Linked DNA regions of Homo sapiens: region 2 is linked to region 1. The links are contacts of gene promoters, found by promoter capture Hi-C in blood cells and fetal thymus (Javierre and others, 2016). All regions are on one chromosome and are shown on one strand. The core of a region is centred on a gene start or on the middle of the fragment in contact, and the rest is flanking DNA. Distances in the headings are between cores, read along the strand shown. Region 1 holds the start of BAD (BCL2 associated agonist of cell death). Region 2 holds the start of PYGM (glycogen phosphorylase, muscle associated).

What was found. Contacts are between HindIII fragments. The CHiCAGO score rates a contact against its expected background, and 5 or more counts as called.
Region 2: the fragment with the promoter of PYGM here is called in contact with the fragment with the promoter of BAD in region 1 in 1 of 17 cell types (naive B cells); the score reaches 5.4 in naive B cells.

The regions. Positions count from the first base shown.
Region 1 is chr11:64,280,366-64,287,546 of GRCh38, reverse strand. It overlaps BAD (BCL2 associated agonist of cell death), which reads left to right and starts at 2,882. Exons shown (of 4, transcript NM_032989.3): 1 at 2,882-2,916; 2 at 3,171-3,365. The coding sequence starts at 3,179. GPR137 (G protein-coupled receptor 137) reads right to left here and starts at 1,699. Exons shown (of 7, transcript NM_001170880.2): 1 at 666-1,699; 2 at 533-582. The coding sequence starts at 1,022. RefSeq lists silencers at 1,623-2,362, 2,713-3,002. The HindIII fragment of the contact is 5,985 bases long and covers 2,347-7,181 here.
Region 2 is chr11:64,758,654-64,765,834 of GRCh38, reverse strand. It overlaps PYGM (glycogen phosphorylase, muscle associated), which reads left to right and starts at 5,861. Exons shown (of 20, transcript NM_005609.4): 1 at 5,861-6,179; 2 at 7,131-7,181. The coding sequence starts at 5,937. It overlaps SF1 (splicing factor 1), which reads left to right. Exons shown (of 13, transcript NM_004630.4): 13 at 1-1,229. The coding sequence ends at 17. RefSeq lists enhancers at 1-98, 99-973, 5,044-5,746, 5,747-6,451, 6,452-7,155 and 7 more. The HindIII fragment of the contact is 7,098 bases long and covers 2,324-7,181 here.

The DNA.
Region 1 (7,181 bases), core at 1,633-4,132:
ACAGCCATGGTACTTCGGAAGGTGCACCAACTGGAGTCAGAAGTCTCTGTCTGAGCCCCAGCTCTGCGACCTTGATCCTGCTGTCTTACCTGGCTGGGCCTCAGTTTCTTCATCTCTCAAGGGAGGATAGTAGCCTCTCAGGGAAATTGTACAAATAAAAGATGGCTGGGAAAGCTCTTTATAAACCGTAAGACACTGTACAAATGACGAGGGCATTGCGGCCCCAGGTCACCCAGGAGTGCATATGGCTTTGGTGCTTCCATGGGCTGGAGCCTCCAGCTCGCCCTCCATGGTGGATGACACTGGGGCCCTCTCCCTCACACTACCACAAGCATTCCTATTCCTGTGCCTTGCAGATCTGCAAGGCCTCTGCTGAGCCATCTGCGCCAGGTGCTTTAACTTTTCCAAGATCTTCCACAGACATTCCCTGGGTTGCCTTTGTCTCAGCCCTGAGAGGTGGGAAGGGATCTACATGGGACTGTCACCTGCCCCTGACCTGGAGGCTGAGCCCACCAGTGTCCCGAGTACTTACAAGCCTCGGCTCATCTCCGGCCGACGCTTCACCTTGGCCTTGAACACCACCTAGGAGCAGAGATGCCCTTCACTCCTGTGGGTCCTTGAGGCTTGCCACCTCCCGCCCCCCACCCGGGACCACAGTTGGTTACCTGGGCAAAGTAGAGGTTCATAAGCGTCAAGGTGAAGAACTGCAGGCAGACGGGGCAGCAGTAGAGAAGCCAGAAGGGCAAGGGCCCCAGGCGGTTGGCGCGGGGAGTATCTCGGAAGTAGAAGGAGAAGAGGGTGGTACGCAAGGCGGCCCAGAGCAGACAGAGGGCCAGGAACACCGTCTGATAGCTGAGACGCTTGTGCCCATACAGAAGCACCAGCCAGAGCTGGGCATAGACGGAGAAGAAGAGCAGGGCATACAGGGTGGTGTAGGCAGCTGTCAGCCCCAGGGTCACAGCAGGTGGCAGCGCAGGCACCAGCCCGGCAGCAGGCACCAGGCCAGACAGGTTACTCTCCATGTCAGGGAGGGAGGCCTGAATCCCGGAGACAGACAAGGAGGGACTGTCGGCGGGACCAGGGAAATAAATACGGAGGGGTGGGAATTGCAGGGTGCAGAGAGGGAGATGGGGCGCTCAGGAGGAAAGAAGTTGTGGCTGACAGGCCCCTCCTCCTCAACAGAGAGACCCTTGCCCTTGGGGAACACAGGCAGCCTGGGCCCCAGGCCCCTCACTCAGGGGCATGGAAGGGCAGTCTCTTTTCTCCAGGACAGACCGGATAGGGGTTGGGGGTGTCTCCTCCCTGGGCCTACCCCAGAGCCAAGGATGGGGGGATGCAGAGGCCCAAGGAGAGGACTCCCTGGCCTCGGTCGTTCATGTCGTCCTGGGTGGAGGGGGAGAGCCGGCTGATACCCGTCGGGTCAGGGCAGCGGCCGCTGCGAGGGGCGCCCAATGCCCCGCTCTCCCCCTCCCCAAGCTGGGGGAGGCTCTCTCTCCTCCAATAATGCGGATGGGGAGGGCCTCTGCCTCCTGTCCTCGTAATTCTCGAAAGCTGCCCCCGCCCCACCCTCCCCCACCGCGTCCACGCTCCAGCCTCAAGGGGAGGGAGGAGGCGGACGCCAGGTCCTCAGGCCGCTGATGGGAGAGCCGGCTCAGGTCGTGGGGACCCGGGGCTCCGGCTCCCCGGCTCCCGCTGCTCCGCCCCCCTCCCCCTCCGCGCCTGCGCGGGCGCCGTTCGCTACGCAAATTGCGCAGCGGCCCGGCTGGCTCCGCAGTCCAGCGCCGCACCCGGCGTGAAACCGTACGAGAATTGGCGCGAGCTGCGCCGCTGGCGGGCGCCCGGGGTTACGGGAGGCGGCAGGAGGGCGGCCGAGTTGCGGGGGCCGTGCCGCATCCAGGGGGTCCCCGGGTGGGCCGTGCCCCGTGCCGCCCGCCTTTACTTGTATGGGGGTCCGCCAGTTCCCACGCTCCTCTCTCCTATACCCAAATCGGGGTCGTGCCGCCCGGCCGGGGGCGGCAACGGATTCCCGTCCCTCGGTCTCTGAAGAAAACTTCCGCCCATAGCCAAGATGGCCCCCGGGCCCCGCCCCCGGGCCTGAACCCGCGGAGCCCCGAATCCCCCGCGCGGGCCCGCCCCTCGCCCCGGCGCGCCCGCGGCCCTGCTCACCTGGCCGGCCGCCTGCCAGGCGTGAAGCCCCCACGGGCCCTACGGTCCTCCCTCACCGGGTCCCCGGCCCTCCTCCCGCGCCCGGGCAGCCATCCCAGCCAGGGAGGAGGTTCCTTTCCTTATCTCCAGTGCCCCCGAGATGGCGCGGGAGGTGTCCCCCGAGGCGGGCGGCGCGAAGCTTCCGCGCCTGGGAGGAGGAGCGGGGAGCGGGACTTTCCGACCGGGCACCCAGTCCAGGCGGAGCGGTAACAATAGCAACAATAATCACATCCGACGGCTGAGCTTCAGTTGTGGCTGTGCCAAGCGCCTTCGCCCGCAGTAATCACTCCCTTCACAAAGTTTTCACTGGCTCCCGGGGGAGCTGTCACTATCCCCACTTCACTGGGGGGAAACTAAGGCCCAGAGGGGCTGAAGGACTTGTTGGCAGAAGTGGGTCTCCAGGTTCCAAATGGGGACCCCAGAGAATCCCTCTCCTGCTCCCACACACGCCCAAGGTGTGAGGCAGCGAGGATGTGAGCCCCGGGGCCGAAGGAGGGAGGAAAAAGGATGCGGACGAGGAGCCTTGGATCCGGCGGGGGGGCGGGGCCGGGCCGGGTTGACCCCGCCTCTGGACCTACCCGAGTGACGTTCCGAGAGGTGATTGGGCCAGGTCGCTGACAGTTCCCGTTGCCCAAGCAACTAGGGCCCGGAGCCCGGGGTGCTGGAGGGAGGCGGCAGGCCCGGGTCAGGGGCCTCGAGATCGGGCTTGGGGTGAGACCTGTGCGCCGTCACCACGGGCGGGGCGGGGCCTGGGTCCACCGGGGTTCTGAGGGGAGACTGAGGTCCTGAGCCGACAGCCTCAGCTCCCTGCCAGGCCAGACCCGGCAGACAGATGAGGGCCCAGGAGGCCTGGCGGGCCTGGGGGCGCTACGGTGGGAGAGGAAGCCAGGGGTACCTGCCTCTGCCTTCCAGGGCCACCGTTGGCCCCAGCTGTGCCTTGACTACGTAACATCTTGTCCTCACAGCCCAGAGCATGTTCCAGATCCCAGAGTTTGAGCCGAGTGAGCAGGAAGACTCCAGCTCTGCAGAGAGGGGCCTGGGCCCCAGCCCCGCAGGGGACGGGCCCTCAGGCTCCGGCAAGCATCATCGCCAGGCCCCAGGCCTCCTGTGGGACGCCAGTCACCAGCAGGAGCAGCCAACCAGCAGCAGCCATCATGGAGGTAAGTACCCCACCACCTCCACCTGCCGGGACACCTCACCCCCAGCCCACTGGCTCCCTGCATCCCAGTTGCATCCACAGGCACTGAATGCTTTGGGTCGGTCCCCAAACTCTCAGAGCCCCAGTTTCCTCTTTCGTAAAACAGCAATTAATAACCACCATTGTAGGACTGTTGAGTTAATTAGCAGGAACATATAGGATGCACTTGATTACAGAGCTGGTGCACATTAAAGCTAAAAAATGGTTGCTGCCGGGCGTGGTGGCTCACACCTGTAATCTCAGCACTTTGGGAGGCCAAGGCAGGAGGATCGCTTGAGCCCAGAAGTTCAAGGCCAGCCTGAGTGACTTAGGGAGACTCCAGCTCTTAAAATACATATATATATATATAGCAGCTATTAGTGTGGGGTTAGGACAGAAATCAGTGACAGGCAGGCAGTGATCCGAAAAGGAAAAGGGGCCTGCCTAAGGCCACACCTTCCTGGTGTTTCTTTCCTTAGAATGTGGGGGCTGGAAGCCTCCTTGGTGCCCTGCCCCAGGCTACATGCTTTCCCTGGGATTAGGCCTTCCAGCTCCCAGATGTGTTCTTTCTTGCCCTGTGGCTCGTACCCACAGCAGGACTGTCCTGGCACAGTGGCCAGGGGCAGATGACCTCAAGGGGCAGACAGTCCTCCCAGACAGCAGGGCTGTGTGGGGTGAGAAGCACAGGCTCCAAGATGGAAGGATGGACACTGGGGTTCTATGTCCATTTCTCAGTAGGCTCTAGCACCCCTGTGCCCAGCACTGGCCTTGGCACCTGGAACAACAACAGATATCTTCTGAACACAAAAACCAGGTCAAGCTGGGTGGGGTGGCACATGTCTGTAGTCCCAGCAACTCAGGAGGCTGGCTTGAGCCCAGGAATTCAAGACCAGCCTGGGCAACATAGCCAGACCCCATCTCTAAAAATAGAAAACTAGGTCATGTCACTCTGGCACTGCAGCTTAAAAGACCTCCTCCCCATTTTCAGGATTAAGAAGGCTTAAGAGGCCTCTTTCCCCTCGCTCTCTTACGGATAAACACCCACACTCGATTCTCTCAGATTGGACCCCATAGCTTGCTTTCTTTTTTTCTGTTTGTTTTGTTTTGTTTTGAGACAGGGTCTCGCTCTATCACCCAGGAGGGAGTACAGAGGTGCGATCTCAGCTCACTGCAGCCCGGAACTTCTGGGCTTAAGTGATCCTCCCACGTAACTGGGAATACAGGTGTGTGGACCACACCCAGTTAATTTATTTTTTACTTTTTCTTTTTTTTTTTTTTTTTTTCCTGAGACGGAGTCTCACTCTGCTGCCCAGGCTGGGGTGCAGTGGTGCAATCTCGGCTCACTGCAACCTCTGCCTCCTGGGTTCAAGCAGTTCTCCTGCCTCAGCCTCCAGAGTAGCTGGGACTACAGGCGCGTGTCACCATGCCGGGCTAATTTCTTGTATTTTTATTAGAGATGGGGTTTCACCGTGTTAGCCAGGGTGGTCTCCATTTCCTGACCTCGTAATCCACCCGCCTCAGCCTCCCAACAGTGTTGGGATTACAGGCGTGAGCCACCATGCCCAGCATTTTTCACATTTTCATGAGATGAGGGCAGGGGCGGGGTCTCCTTTTGTTGCCCAGGCAGGCCTCAAACTCCTGGGCTCAAACGATCCTCCTGCCTCAGCCTCCAGAACAGCTGGGACCACAGGTGCATGCCACCACACCAGCTCATTTTTTATTTTTTGTAGAGGTGGGGTCTTGCTTTGTTGCCCAGTCTTGTCTCGAATTCCTGGGCCCAAGCAATCCTCTCACCTTGGCCTCCCAGACTGTTGAGATTACTGGCGTGAGCCACCATGCTCAGCCTCCACAGCTTTCTTTAACTTCCTGAGCTTGCACTTGGCCATTTTTCTGCTCACAAACTTCCCCTGCTCTCTGCCCCCCACACACACTCAGCATTCACTCGCGCCACACAGTGAGTGCTCACCGTGTGACACAGGCTGTTCCAGTTGCTAGGGGGCCTCGGTGAACCCAAGCGTCAGGAATCCTTGCCCTTGTGGAGCTTACCTTCTAGTGAGCTGGTGGGGCCATGAGCAAACAAGCACAAAAGCATCCTATCATGCGTGAGAAGATTTGTATGGGGGCAGCATGTAAAAGAGTTAAGAGAGGCCGGGCGCGGTGGCTCACGCCTGTAATTCCAACACTTTGGGAGGCCTAGGTGGGCGTATCACAAGGTGAAGAGATGGAGACCATCCTGGCCAACATGGTGAAACCCCATCTCTACCAAAAATACAAAAATTAGCTGGGCATGGTGGCGCGCACCTATAGTCCCAGCTACTCGGGAGGCTGAGGCAGGAGAATCGCTTGAACCCGGGAGGCGGAGGTTGCAGTGAGCCAAGATCGTGCCACTGCACTCCAGCCTGGCGACAGAGTGAGACTCATCTCAAAAAAAAGAGTTAAGAGAATCCGGAGTCACAGGGGCGGGGGGAGTGATGGTAGCAGAGGTGGTCAGCACTCACCTTGGTGAGAAGCACCACTGGAGCCAAGGCCACAGGGATGATGGGAAGAGAGTTCCAGGCAGAGAGAAGGGCAGATGGTAAGGCCTCGAGGGCAACACCTGCTCCTGGCTAGGGTGGGCCTAGGGGAGGGGGTTTAGGAAAGGGTATTTGGAGACCTAAAGTTGAAGGTCATTCTAAGGACTCTGGCATTGCCTTTGAGTAAAAACCTGGAAAGGATTTGAGCAGAGGCAGCATGGTCAGATTTAGACATTCAGAGAGTCACCAGGGAGGTGGTGAGAAGTAGCTGATCCCTGGATTTATTTTTAAAGCAGAACTGGCAGGATCTGCTGATGGACTGGATGTGGGGTGCGAGGGAAAGAGAGGAGTCAGGATGATGCCAAGGAATTTTAAAAAAACTATTAGGCTGGGCGCGGTGGCTCACGCCTATAATCCCAGCACTTTGGTAGTTCGAGGTGGGCAGATCATGAGGTCAGGAGATAGAGACCATTCTGGCTAACACGGTGAACCCCGTCTCCACTAAAAATACAAAAAATTCTCTGGGCGTGGTGGTGGGCGCCTGTAGTCCCAGCTACTCTGGAGGCTGAGGCAGGAGAATGGCGTGAGCCCGGGAGGCGGAGCTTGCAGTGAGCAGAGATTGCACCACTGCACTCCAGCCTGGGTGACAGAGCAAGATTCCGTCTCAAAAAAAAAATTATTATTGGCCGGGCGTGGTGGCTCACACCTGTAATCCCAGCACATCGGGAGGCTGAGGCAGGCAGATCACTTGAGGTCAGGAGTTCAAGAACAGCCTGGCCAACTTGGTGAAATCCTGTCTCTACTACAAATACACAAATTAGCTGGATGTGGTGGTGGGCGCCTGTAATCCCAGCTACCTGAGAGGCTGAGGCAGGAGAATCACTTGAACCCAGGAGGTGGAGGTCGCAGTGAGCTGAAATCCTGCCACTGCACTCCAGCCTGGGTGACAGAGCAAGAGTCCGTCTCAAAAAACAAAAAATAAATAAAAATAAAATAAATTAGGCCAGGCGCGGTGGCTCACGCCTGTAATCCCAGCACTTTGGGAGGCCGAGGCGGGCGGATCACGAGGTCAGGAGATCAAGACCATCCTGGCTAACACGGTGAAACCCCGTCTCTACTAAAAATACAAAAAATTAGCCGGGCGTGGTGGTGGGTGCCTATAGTCCCAGCTACTCGGGAGGCTGAGGCAGGAGAATGGCATGAACCCGGGAGGCAGAGCTTGCAGTGAGCCGAGATGGTGCCACTGCACTCCAGCCTGGGCGACAGAGCAAGACTCCGTCTCAAAA
Region 2 (7,181 bases), core at 4,612-7,111, 480 kb before region 1:
CTCCACCACAGAACTAGACTTGTTTTTTAAGAAAATATATATTATATATAGAGAGAATTGGTCTCGTTTAAACACGCCGAACCTCACCATATGGAGCCAGACATTGGGACGCACGCATGTGATTGTGTGTGCACGCATGTGTGTGTGTGCACGCACTGGGCTGGGCCAAGCGACTGAGGATTCGCTTGGGAACGGGCAGGTGGTAGTAGGGGCGCCAGCTTGGGCTCTCCTGGCGCCCCGTAGCATCGAGTGTCTTCTTTGTCTTCTTTCTCTCCTCACCCAACTCCCTTTGCCTCTCCCCAAACCGGGCCGCCAGGATCCCTCCCCGCGGCGGCGATGGCCCGAGCCATGAGAGTGAGGACTTTCCGCGCCCATTGGTGACCCTTCCAGGCAGACAGCCTCAGCAACGCCCCTGGTGGACAGGATGGTTCGGCAAAGCAGCCTGAGTTATTTTTGTGGACGGAATCGGAACACGCTGGCTCCATATCGTGAAATTTTTATTAATTTTTTTCTTTTTCCTTTGTTACTTCTTTATCTTTTCCTTTCTTCAGACTCCGTCCAAGGAGATGCTCTCCCCGGTCTTCTGCTGCAATTTAGATTCCTTTCCCTTCTCTCCAGTTCTCCTTCCCTTACCAAGGAGAGGGGAGCAAATGGTTTTGGGCAAGGGCTTTGGCCATTCATGTCAAGCTGGTTGTGGGTTTTTCAAGGTGCCATAGCCACCCCCAAAGATGTTTGTTTAAAGCGTGGGGTTTTTTAATCTCTGCCACCCTTGTCAAGGGAGTCTTGTAAAGTTGCCGAGGGTAGGTTCATCTCCAGGTTTCGGGATTCCCATCCGTCCTGGCGATCCTGCCAGCAGTGGGTGGGCAGCCTGAGCTCCCTCGGGCTCGCCTGCCAGCCTGGAGTTCTTCCTGTGCTCCTTGATCACCTGAGCTGCCTCAGATTCCATTTGGTCCTCTCCTTCCTGGAAGGCTTCCTTTTATGTTTTGTTTTAATCCCAAATGTCTGAATGTTTTGCAGTGTGTAGGGGTTTGAGCCCCTTGTTCATTCTCCTTCCTTTTTCCTCCCGCTTCCCTCTCCATGAAGTGATTCTGTTGACAATAATGTATACTGCGCGTTCTCTTCACTGGTTTATCTGCAGAAATTTCTCTGGGCTTTTTTCGGTGTTAGATTCAACACTGCGCTAAAGCGGGGATGTTCCATTGAATAAAAGAGCAGTGTGGTTTTCTGGGTCTGCTTCTTTATTTTCTTTTTAATGCCTGCCCCGCCCGGTTTTTCTTTTCACATAAACTTCCTCTACCACCAGCAGCAGCAGCAGCACCAAAGGTGCCTTAACTTTCGTTCAGCACCAGGTCCGGGGGGGTGAGACTGTGGGTGGTTAATTAGGGAAGCCCACCACCTGCCTCCTGTGTGTGGCTTTGGTGGTGGGAGCTCAGTGTGTGGGTGGCTCCACAGTCTCCCCTTTGGTGACTAGTTAACATCGCTGAGAACCAATTTTGCCCCTCCTTGTTCACTGCTCATTTTTCTAGTCTCTGTCCTTTGAAGGCTTTTTCCTGGGGCTCAGACGTCCACGTTTGATGAGCTCCAGTGGTGATTTGTGCCTGGAAGCTGCCACCTAAGGCCCTGGGCCTGGGGAGGCATCAACACTAAAGGTCAAGCCAACTAATCCTGCCTGTCAGGCACAGAGCAGCTAAAATTAAAACCGCCAAGTGGCTTTTTTCCTTCTCTGCTGGTGACTTGCAGCCTGCCAGCGCTGTAGGCTTTGGCGGGGGTCGGGGGGACAGGATAAAGTGCCCCATCTTGTGCTTTGCAAGCACTTTTCAAAGGGTCTTCTGCTTTTTTTCCATGTCTTGGGCGGCGAGTGGGTAGTTACTGTTAGGGTTCCAGAAAAATCCATGTGGAGTCTCCACCAGGTAGTGAGGTCCTCTCCTGGGCAGAGGTGCCTTAGAGCTGCCCTGGTTCCACCTGCCTCTCCTTCCTTCAGGGCGGCTGAGGGACAGTAGGCTCCCCCAGCATCTGGCTGCTGGGGCCAGCAACTGGCCTGGGCTGCTTTCCAGCTGTGAGCTAGGGCTGGCTACTGCTGTTTACTGGGGTGTCTGGTCCCCCGTCCAGGAGGCCTGTGCTTTGCTATGGGTCTGCCAGGCTTGAGGAGCCCTCAGAAGCAAGGCAGGCTCAGTGCGTTTCCCCAGCCAAGCCCTAAACTTCGGCTCACCAAAAGGAGGACATCTTTTTTGCCTTTGTCCTTAAGTGGCAGAATGGGGGCAGGGCCTGGGGCCTGGCTACCCTCTTTGACCTTGGCTTCACCTCATTGCTTCTCCCACAAGCTTGGTTTCCCTGGTGGGCTCATTGGGTGGTTAATTAGCTCTTTGAAGCTCTGGAAGCGGCAAAGTGGCGCTATGTGGGTTTTAGAAATAAAATCAATAAATGACTTAACCACAGCTTAGCTATCTCCTCCGCTTCTCTCCCCCAGGCCAGCTCCATTCCTGTGCTCCCTCCCTTTCTGCTCCCTGCCGTCAGCTTTTGTTAAGGTTTTGGAGAGGAAGTGGCTGACTAAGGCATCAGTCTCCAAGGTGCTAGAGGCCCTGAAATGGAAGAGACAGCAGGAAGGCTTGGCCCTCTGAACCGTGGCAAGCACTTGCCTCTGGCAGAATCAGAGAGAGAAAGGCCTGCCCACCTGTCTTAAGACACCTGGGGTGGGAAAGCAAGCCATTTACTCCATCACATTGTGACAGGGCTGTGCTTGCCCCACCCCCTCTCCTCACGTTCATTTCTGCTGCTGTAGCAGCACTGTCCCCGTCCCTCAAGGCCTGGCAAGGCCTGGCAAGAGGAATGCCAGTGGGGAAAGGTCAGCCTCAGGGCTCTGTTACTGAGGTTCAGCCAAGGGCTCTGGAGAAACCCAGGATTGGTCCAAGGAAGGAGGCCGGGTTTCTAGTTAGAAACTTAGACATAAATAACCTCGAGTGAGTTCAGGTTGTAAAAGTGCTTCAGGGTTCATTAAACCTGCATACACAACACCAAGGAGGGGCGGAGGAAGCAGGGAAACAGATGAGATCGTGCTGCCCAGGTGTGATCATGCTGGGCTGGGGCATGCAGTGTCACCCCGGGACAAAGCCTGGAAACAGTGGGGAGTGATGGCATGACAAAGACGGAAAGAAGCCACAGAAAAGGTAGTTGGAGAAAGTTAAAAATTTCCCAGTAAAAATGTTCCTGAGAGCAAGCGCCCTGGGTGCAAGAGGGGAGAGTAGCTGGGAAAGGATGGAATGAACTTGGCCTTCCCTGCCTGTAAGATGTGGATGGTCTATGGGGATCGGGTCCTCAGTGGCAGGAACATAAAGTCTTGCAGGAAATAGGGGTCAATGCAAAGAAGGTGTGTGTGGCCAAAGCAGGCTGCCACGATTGGGCTGTGAGGTGACGGCATGGTTAACAAGCTACTGCCTGCCTGGCAGTGGACTGCCAAGAAGTCTCAGCTCTACTCACAGCAACCCTCCAAGGGACAAGTGCGGGCTGTGAAGAACCTTGGATGCCAGGCCAAGCTGGAGTCCAAGCTGTGCTTAGTGGAGGATGGGGATGAGGCCCAGGAGCTGAGGCTGGGGTGCAAACTGTGAAAGGGGAAGAGACCAGACAGCTGCCAGCATTGTTTTTTTGTTTGTTTTTGAGACAGAGTCTCGCTGTGTCGCCCAGGCTGGTGTGCAGTGGCGTGATCTCGGCTCACTGCAACCTCTGCCTCCCGGGCTCAAGTGATTCTCCTGCCTCAGCCTCCCGAGTAGCTAGGATTACAGGCATGTGCCACCATGCTTGGCTAATATTTGTATTTTTAGTAGAGACGGGGTTTCGCCATGTTGATCAGGCTGGTCTCGAACTCCTGACCTCAGGTGATCCACCCACCTCGGCCTCAAAGTGCTAGGATTACAGGCGTGAGCCACCGCGCCCGGCCAGCATTGTTTTTTAATGGTTTATGAAACACTTCTTAAGAGAAATTGGAAATTAACAGAAAAATGTAAGGAAAAGTTGTTTGCATCCCCGTGTCTGTGGAGGTGTATTTTGGTGTTTTTTTCCCGATCTTTTTTCTCTACTTGGAAATGTGGCAGGCACCACAGAAGACAGTGTGCCCGTGCCTTTTGGGGGCAGGGGTAGAGCAGGGCTTGGGAGCCTGGAGACCTCTGTAGGACTTGAAGTTTGGCCCACATACTAAGCCGGTGATTCCAGGGCTGGGTCTGCCATGGCTCAGAAAGTGATCGGAGGCCGGGCGCTGTGGCTCATGCCTGTAATCCCAGCATTTTGGGAGGCCAAGGTGGGCGGATCACCTCAGGTCAGGAGTTCCAGACCAGCCTGGTCCAACATGGTGAAACCCCGTCTCTACTAAAAATACAAAACTTAGCTGGGCATGGTGGTGGGTGCCTGTAATCCCAGCTACTCAGGAGGCTGAGGCAGAATTGCTTGAGCCCAGGAGGCGGAGGTTGCAGTGAGCTGAGATCATGCCATTGCACTCTAGCCTGGGCGACAAGAATGAAACTCTACCTCAAAAAAAAAAAAAAAAAAGTTCTCAGAAACAGCTTGGCTTTCTCCGAACCAGGCTCTCAATAGTATCCTGCAGCTGTCCAGGCTTTTGACCTGCTTCCTTGGCCTTCAGAACAGAACACCCAGCTCTTCCCCTCCACCGGCCCACCACCCGGGAGGCCCAAACAGCCTTTGAACTAGCACAAGGTCCTGGTTCCTTTCTCTTAAAGAACAGCAGGATCCGAAGCCTGCCCTCACAAGATGAGGAGGCAGCAGCTGAGAGGCAGGGATTTTTTTTTTTCTCATTGGAGAGTCTAAATTTGGTGAAGGAATCCAAAGCTCAGAAAGGTAAAGCAACCAGCTTGAGGTCACACAGCAAGTCAGTGCTGGGGCCAGAACACAGCAGTGAATGGGAGGATAGCCAAAGCCTCCAGGGAAGGGCTCAAAGCTGTGGGGCTATGCACACAAATGGGGTGAGGTCCTCGAGGTACAGATTAGGCACCCATTTTATAGGCCAGGTCACAGAGCTGGTTTACAAAATCCTGCTCAGAGTGTGGCCCCAGGTGGCAGGAAGAAGTGAAAGAAGGCCTCTAATCACTTCCTAAGCAGTGGAATCACAGGGAGAACTTACTGTCATTAAACCAGTATGATGATGGAGTGGGGAATGCCTCAGTTTCTCCCACCGCCGAGGGCCTATAGGACTACAGTTCCCAGGGCCCCGTGCTGCAGGCTAGCGGCCTCCCGCCAATGCTGGCCAGTAACCTGAGCATCCCTCTCCAAAAGGTCACTTCAGGGCTCCTTGAGGGACAGCAACAGGGGGAGCCTAGAGCTGCTCAGCTTCGGTGGGGGTGGAGTGAGGGCTGTGGCCCTGCCTCACACAACCTCCCTCACACCACCCCTGCAATGCAGGGTCGTGGGCCCCTTTCTCAAAGACATCCAGTGGCCTCTGCTAGTTGCACCTCTTCCGTCAGGGGACACTGACTTGGCTCCTGCACCACAGCCTGCAGGGGGTCCTGGTTCCTTTTGCCACAACACATGGCCTCCCATCCTGGTTCAGCCACTGACAGACAGCTCCCCAATCCAGCACTCTGCCTGCTCCTTCTTGTATCCAACCCTCCAAAAGGCAGGGACAAGGGACAGAAGACCATGTGCAAGGCCTGGAGGAAGTGGGTCAGCACAGGCCTGTGAACAAGCCAGGCCAGTCTTGGCGGCCCAAGTGGAGCTCACCTCTCCCTCCCCTCTCCTCTCCTCCCCTTGCCCTCAAAATAGCTCCCTGAGCTGCCAGGCCAAGACCCTCCCATTGCAGGGGAGGCGGGGCGTGCTGCCCAGAGCCAGGCTTTAAATCCCCTTGAGGCTGGGGAGCTCCACTCCTTGGCTGGAGGCAGTGCTGAGGCCGCCGTCCCCTCTACCATCAGTCCAGTCCGGCCCGCCCTCCTGCAGCCATGTCCCGGCCCCTGTCAGACCAAGAGAAAAGAAAGCAAATCAGTGTGCGTGGCCTGGCCGGCGTGGAGAACGTGACTGAGCTGAAAAAGAACTTCAACCGGCACCTGCATTTCACACTCGTAAAGGACCGCAATGTGGCCACCCCACGAGACTACTACTTTGCTCTGGCCCATACCGTGCGCGACCACCTCGTGGGGCGCTGGATCCGCACGCAGCAGCACTACTATGAGAAGGACCCCAAGGTGCTGCTGGGGAGCCTGGGGTGGGGGTATGGGCTGAAGGCGCTGCCAGGGAGCTGGCGATCTTGACTTAAGTGGCTGCCCCTCGTCACTCTAGGTTCTTGGGGGTGGAGAATCCAGGGGTGCCAGGCACAAGGGGTGCTGGGACAATCTGAGGGAGAAACCTGGGGCAGGAGTGGGGGTCAGGGAGCTCAGAGCAGGTGGGCTGGCTGCAAAGGGTCAGTGCCCACTCGGAGAAGGTTGGAGTGGGTGCTGGTGGGCAGGACGGCGCCTGTGGCCTGGCTGGGCCCAGGTGGAAGGACACATCAGTTGCTGCATGTATGCGCGGTGTGCCTGTGCAGCAGGCGGGGCTGGGGCAGCTGGGGCGGCAGAGATCAAGTGTCCGGTGGGGTCACTGGTAAATGTCAGCAACCTGACACGCCTCGGTGGGGAGTGGGGGAGGGGCGGGCAGACGGCCCAGGAGGGGACCCAGGAAACTGGGAGACCAGGCACTGGCAGCATCCTAGTTTCTGGTGCCTCTGGGTCTCCTTGGGATTGAGGCTTGAGGGCCAAGGGGAACTGGACAGTGCAAGGATGGGAGGTGACAGTCTCTAGCCCAGTCTCTAGCCACTGTGTGACCTTGAGCAAATGACTTTTTTCTCTGGGGGTGTGTGCAGGGGGAAGGGGTGCCCATTCTCCCGAGTACCTCAGTCCCTGAAGTGGGTATGGCCAGCGCTATTTCCCAGATGAGGAGACTGAGGCCAAAGAGAGTGATTTGTCCAAAGTCAGAGGAATGCTGGGACCAGAACCTTAACCGCTGGGCCCCAAAGCCTGAGACAGGGAGAAACAAATTGGGGACAGGGATGGGACTGCTGAGCAGGGCAGGCGGGCCAGAGGTCCAGGCGTGGCTGGGCCTGGCTGAGTGTTGGTGTGTGGCCCTGACCCCATTCCCTGCCCATCCGTCTCTCTGGGCAGAGGATCTACTACCTGTCTTTAGAGTTCTATATGGGACGGACGCTACAGAAC